Regions from separate parts of the Homo sapiens genome. Here region 1 is linked to region 2. The links are contacts of gene promoters, found by promoter capture Hi-C in human tissues and cell types (Jung and others, 2019). All regions are on one chromosome and are shown on one strand. Each heading gives the region's core, a stretch centred on a gene start or on the middle of the fragment in contact. The rest is flanking DNA. Distances are from core to core; before and after follow the strand shown.

Region 1 (3,321 bases), core at 738-3,237, 260 kb after region 2:
TCCAAATAAATTTCATAATTGGAAATTTCAGTAACAGAAATAGTAAAATCACTTTAGGGGCTCATAGCAGAATAGAGATGACAGAAGAAAGAGTTGCTGAACTTGGAGATAGAAAGTATCCAATCTGAAAAACAGAAGAAAGGCCAGGCACTGTGGCTCACGCCTGTAATCCCAGCACTCTGGGAGGCCAAGGTGGGCAGATCACTTTAGGTCAGGCATTCAAGACCAGCCTGGCCAACACAGTGAAACCCCATCTCTACTAAAAATACAAAAACTGGCCAGGCATGGTGGCACGCACCTGTAGTCCCAGCTACTTGGGAGGCTGAGGCAGGAGAATCACTTGAACCCGGGAGGTGGAGATTGCAGTGAGCCAAGAGCTGAGATCGAACTACTGCACTCCAGCCTGGGAGACAGAGCAAGACCCTGTCTCAAAAAATTAGAAAATTAAAAAATAAGTAACAGAAGAAAAAAGTGAAAAAAATAATTCTTTTAGAATCAGATTTGACCCAGCAATCCCATTACTGGGTATGTACCCAAAGGATTATAAATCATTCTACTATAAAGACACATGCACACATATGTTTATTGCAGCACTACTCACAATAGCAAAGACTTGGAACCAACCCAAATGTCCATCAGTAATAGACTGGATAAAGAAAATATGGCACATAATACCATGGAATACTATGCAGCCATAAAAAGGATGAGTTCGTGTCCTTTGCAGGGACATGGATGAAGCTGGAAACCATCATTCTCAGCAAACTATCACAAGAACAGAAAACCAAACACCGCATGTTCTCACTCATAACTGGGAGTTGAACAATGAGAACACGTGGACATAGAGAGGGGAACATCACATACCGGGGCCTGTCGGGGGACTGGGGATTAGAGGAGGGATAATATTAGGAGAAATACCTAATGTAGGTCACGAGTTGATGGGTGCAGCAAACCACCATAGCACGTGTATACCTATGTAACAAAACTGCACGTTCTGCACATGTACTCCAGAACTTAAAGTATAATTAAAAAAAAAAAAAGAATCAGAGACCTCTGAGATATTATTTTTTAAAAAACATGTTTGTGTTACAAAAGTTCCAGAAGGAGAGGAGAAAGACATTGGAATAGAAGAAAATATGTATTTTAATAAATAATGGTTGAAAACTTCCCTAATTTGGTAAAAGGCATAAACTGACAGATCCATGAAGTACAGCAAAACCCAAATGTATCAACTTAAAGAAAACCACAGTCAGACAACATAATCAAACTGTGTAAGATAACTGGGAAAAGATATGGAAAAAAAAACTTGGAAGCAGACAAATAAATATAAGATTCAAATGATTGCATTGAGGCCAGAAATACGAGGAACATTTAAAAATGACTAGTAATTGGTCTACACGGCTTGTAAAATCTCTTCTATGGGTTGTAATTTGAATACGATATTTCCAACAACTGGATAAGCGATTGTACACACACAAAAAAGGAGATACTGAATAATTCACTAAAGCTTAATGCCTTCTCTGCATGAAAAAGATTAGAAAGCAAAAGAAAAGCCCTTACAATTCTCTAGGGCAGCGATTCTCAGAATACTGTCCTTATACTCGTCAGGAAACCAAACACTTTGGAGGAAATGCCACAAAGTCAAAACTATTTTCATAATAATTCTAAGACATTACCCACCTATGTTGACATTTACACTGATGGCACAAAACCAACAGTGGGCAAAATTCTGGCCTCCTAGCATAAATCACTGTATTCTTCATCACCACACACTCACAGGGAAGAAGAGAAAAAAAAGCAAGTTTAATTTTCAATATTTTTGATGAAGCAATAAAAATTATTAATTGTACTAAATTTCAACTTTTGAGTACTGTCTTCATCTGAAAAATCACAGTTCAGTGGGAAGATGCCACCTAAAAAGTCTAAGATCCTTGCCCCAAATGGACTGTGAGAACAAAAAGAGGGTATGTTTGAGTCCCACTGCTCTGAATTTCAAGATTTACAGTCAAACTCACAGGATGGCAGTTGTTTATCTGCCCTTAACTAGCATTTGGTCTGCTCAGGACCCTCCCTGTCACCAAACAGGAAACGCAAGAAAGGGAGTGTTGGCTGCCTGGCTGCTGACAAGCTAATCACAGGACTCAGTGACCTTCAATGAAGAGGGCTTTACTGGACTCATCTCAGTGAAACCTGCACAGGAATGAGATACAGGAGAACTACCAACGTGGTATCACTTAGGCATCATATGGGCAAACTCCGTTTGATCTCTTGGTTAGAGAAAGAAGATGAGTTGATGACAGAAGATGAAATTTCCCAAGTATTTGTATGTTCTACTTAAAAATCAAAGGGTCAAATCTTAAGTAGGACATTTTTAGGTAAAATGTAAAAGTCAACACAATTGTGCAAAAATGGAGATAAGTCATCTTAGAGAAACACTCAATGAATATCATCAGTGCAAGGTCTAACCTTATTCAACACAAGAAAATTCAAACTGGTGAATTTTCTGCTCTGCATATAACTAATATGAAAAATGTTTCAGTAGTAACTCTTAATTTCTGAGGTACATGTGAATACAAAATGGAGATAAACCTTATGAATGTAAGGACTGCAGAAGGCCTTCAGTTATCACTCATCCCTTTGGATACATATTATAATTCACATTAGAATAAAGCACAATGACAGTAAGCAGCATTTTCAAGTCTTTAGCATTAGATCTGTCCTTAGAGGAGAGAAGAGAATACTGAGGAGAATCTCTATAAATGTGATTGATACAGAAAAGTTTTCAGTGTAAGTTCTACTCCCATTGTGTTCATGAGAATTCACACTGGGGAAAAACCCTGTAACTGTCATGATTATACTGGAAAAATATTCAGGAAGCACTCACGTTTGATGTACACGAGAGCGCAAACTGGGGAGCTCAAACTGGGGACATATTGATTACAGCTTTTCCCTTACAGTGTACAAGAGAATACAAAATAGAATGCAAAGATGGTGGGAAAGCCTTTAGTATTACTTCATCCCTTAGAAAACATGAGAAACCACACTAGTGAAAAGCCCTATGAATGTAATCAGTACAAAAAATCCTTCCAATATAATCCTTCATTTACCACACATAAGAGTATATAATGGGGAGAATCCCTATGAATGTGGAAAAGCACGTATTGATCTTTCATCTGTTAGGCACATGAGACAATTTATATTAGACATCTTATGAATGTAACCAATGAGTACGGGACAATTTCTCTGTCCTTAGGTAATCAATGAGCAGTTGCAGCAAAGAGAAACACTTCGAATGTCATCAGTGTGAATGAGCCTTTCATTTTG
Region 2 (3,122 bases), core at 31-2,530:
GGAGCTAAGAGCTACTTGTCACCATGACATGAAGCTTCATGCCAGCAAATTAAAGGAGCTATTCAGAACTAGTATCCTCAACTCTACTTGCTCAGGGGCACTGACCTTATAGAGATTCCAGACATAAGCTTGTTCAGCCTTAAAGTCCAATCTTTCCACTGGCTTGGGTCCTTCCCACTTTCTGTGGCCAACTCTGAGGTTGTCTACAAGTTATTGGTCTTAGATTTATGTAATGTCTCAATGCCAGTGTAGTATTTGGTTATTTACGGTAGGAGTGGTTAGGGGTGGGGAATCTGATAATAGCTCGTAGGATAGCTAGATTCTTTTTTTTTTTTTTTTTTTTTAAAGATAGGGTCTCACTTTGTCTCCCAGGATGGATGGAGTGCAGTGGAGTGAACATGGCTCACTGCAGCCTCGACCTCCTGTGCTCAAGTGTTCCTCCTGCCTCAGCCCCTCAAGTAGCTGGGACTACAGGCACATGTCACCATGCCCAGCTAATTTTTTTTGTAGAGATGGGATTTTACCATGTTGCCCAGGCTGGTCTCGAGCTCCTGGGCTCAAGTGATCCACCAGACTCGGCCTCCCAAAATGCCGGGATTACAGGTGTGAGCCACTGTGCCTGGCCTAGATGCTTTCATACAGGCTTTTCAATTATGCATTTTCCTTAAGTAGGAAGTCTTAAGATCCAAGTTATATCGGATTGTTGTAGTCTACGTTCCCATATTCTATTCCTATTTCTGAGCCTTCAGTCATGAGCTACCATATTAAAGAACTAATTCTGGGCCTTGTTACATGGCTGGATTGGTTGGACAAGTGCCAGCTCTGATCCTGGGACTGTGGCATGTGATGACATACACCCCCTCTCCACATTCTGCATGTCTCTAGGGGGGAAGGGGGAAGCTCGGTATAGAACTTTATTGTATTTTCTGATTGCCTCACTTCTTATATTGCCCCCATGCCCTTCTTTGTTCCTCAAGTAACCAGAGACAGTGCTTCCCAGAACCAACCCTACAAGAAACAAAGGGCTAAACAAAGCCAAATGGGAAGCAGGATCATGGTTTGAACTCTTTCTGGCCAGAGAACAATACCTGCTATGGACTAGATACTGGGAGAGGGAAAGGAAAAGTAGGGTGAATTATGGAAGGAAGCTGGCAGGCTCAGCGTTTCTGTCTTGGCATGACCAGTCTCTCTTCATTCTCTTCCTAGATGTAGGGCTTGGTACCAGAGCCCCTGAGGCTTTCTGCATGAATATAAATAAATGAAACTGAGTGATGCTTCCATTTCAGGTTCTTGGGGGTAGCCAAAATGAGGTTCTTTGTCCCTCTGTTCCTGGTGGGCATCCTGTTCCCTGCCATCCTGGCCAAGCAATTCACAAAATGTGAGCTGTCCCAGCTGCTGAAAGACATAGATGGTTATGGAGGCATCGCTTTGCCTGAATGTGAGTTCCCTGCCTCTGTGTTTCATCCATTCCTCATACGCTTCTCTCCTCCATCCCCTCTTTCTTCCACTTCGCCCCTCCACTTTTACTTAATTATCTAATCATCCTCTTTTCTGCTCATTTGCATACTCTTTTATTTCATGTATGTATATATGTATGTATTTATTTATTTTTGAGGTGGAGTTTCGCTCTTGTTGCCCAGACTGGAGTGCAATGGTGTAATCTCGGCTCACTGCAACCTCCGCCTCCTCGGTTCAAGTGATTCTCCTGCCTCAGCCTCCCAAGTAGCTGGAATTACAGGCACCCACCACCATGCCTGGCTAATTTTGTATTTTTTGTAGAGACAGGGTTTCACCATGTTGGCCAGGCTGGTCTCAAACTTCTGACCTCAGGTGATCCGCCCTCCTCAGCCTCCCAAAGTGTTGGGATTACAAGCGTGAGCCATCATGCCTGGCCCCATTTATTTTCCTATCCTTTCTTTCTCTTATTGTCTGATTTTTTTTTGGAATTCTCCATCTCATCAAGAAACTCTGAGCTTTGCCATCTTTGGAGATTGGCTGGAAAGCATTTTTGTCTGAGAATTACAGTTCCTCCTTTATGCAGATCCTGTACATCTCTGTGGTATCTCTTTCTCATCTTTCCCTCAGTGATCTGTACCATGTTTCACACCAGTGGTTATGACACACAAGCCATAGTTGAAAACAATGAAAGCACGGAATATGGACTCTTCCAGATCAGTAATAAGCTTTGGTGCAAGAGCAGCCAGGTCCCTCAGTCAAGGAACATCTGTGACATCTCCTGTGACAGTGAGTAGCCCCTATAACCCTCTTTCTCTGTTTTTCTGAGGCCTGCCCTTGGGATAATCTCCTTTTTAGTGCCAAGCAGACCTCAGGCTTCATTGCCTTGGCTGGGCTCTATAAAAATTGTGGGACTTGAATTGGCAGTACTGAGTAAGAAGCTGTTTGGATTTTTCATGGTCATCAAATCCCCAGACAGTTCCTTGAGGTTCAGTGGTAGACAATCGGAGCTGTCTGAGAGTCTTGGAATCTGATTGTCTGCATTTTCAGGGTAAGTCAGTTGATGAAGCTGATGATTCCTCCAGAGATATCCCAGGGAAATGAAGGAAGTCCCTACCCAGGGTTAGACATTACCACATTGGTCCTTTCATATAGAAAGACAACAGGCACAAGCCTTGAGTTTAGAGAACCCACTGGATCCAGGGGTTAGGGGAACTCAGTGCCTTTCTGGGTAATACTTGTCAGCTGTCTCAATCCTTTCCCTGTAACTCCTGCCAGAGTTCCTGGATGATGACATTACTGATGACATAATGTGTGCCAAGAAGATCCTGGATATTAAAGGAATTGACTACTGGTGAATCCTTATTCTATTTTCTATTTCCCCATCCTCCTTCTCCTTACCCCATTAGCCCAGCACCCCTTTCCTCTTACCCTATCTCTTGGTCATTTAATCTAGAATACAGTGTCTGAAACAAAGCTTACCTAGAGACTCAGGTTTCTGTTATTAAGCCTCTCTCGCTCCGCTCCTTGGTAGCAATTTTCCTAATAAGGGGTTGCCTAATGGAGGGCTCAGACCCAGGCCTCCTTTCACTTAGACTTGGACATCTAATTCCACTTGTTTAGTTCTATGCCCTAAAGCAAGCTGTTGGTAACATTGCATCTCTTTT

The links. The method cuts DNA at HindIII sites, captures the fragments that hold promoters and counts their contacts. A contact is called where the count stands out against the background at its distance.
Region 1: a contact is called between a fragment that was not itself captured here and the fragment with the promoter of LALBA in region 2, in 1 of the 25 tissues and cell types used here (aorta).

Annotation. Positions count from the first base shown.
Region 1 is chr12:48,310,271-48,313,591 of GRCh38, reverse strand. No RefSeq gene overlaps it. Among named protein-coding and RNA genes, the nearest start is that of H1-7, 17 kb to the left of the region's middle. The HindIII fragment of the contact is 3,871 bases long and covers 52-3,321 here.
Region 2 is chr12:48,568,204-48,571,325 of GRCh38, reverse strand. LALBA (lactalbumin alpha) reads left to right here and starts at 1,280. Exons shown (of 4, transcript NM_002289.3): 1 at 1,280-1,438; 2 at 2,086-2,244; 3 at 2,734-2,809. The coding sequence starts at 1,306. The HindIII fragment of the contact is 2,890 bases long and covers 1-2,558 here.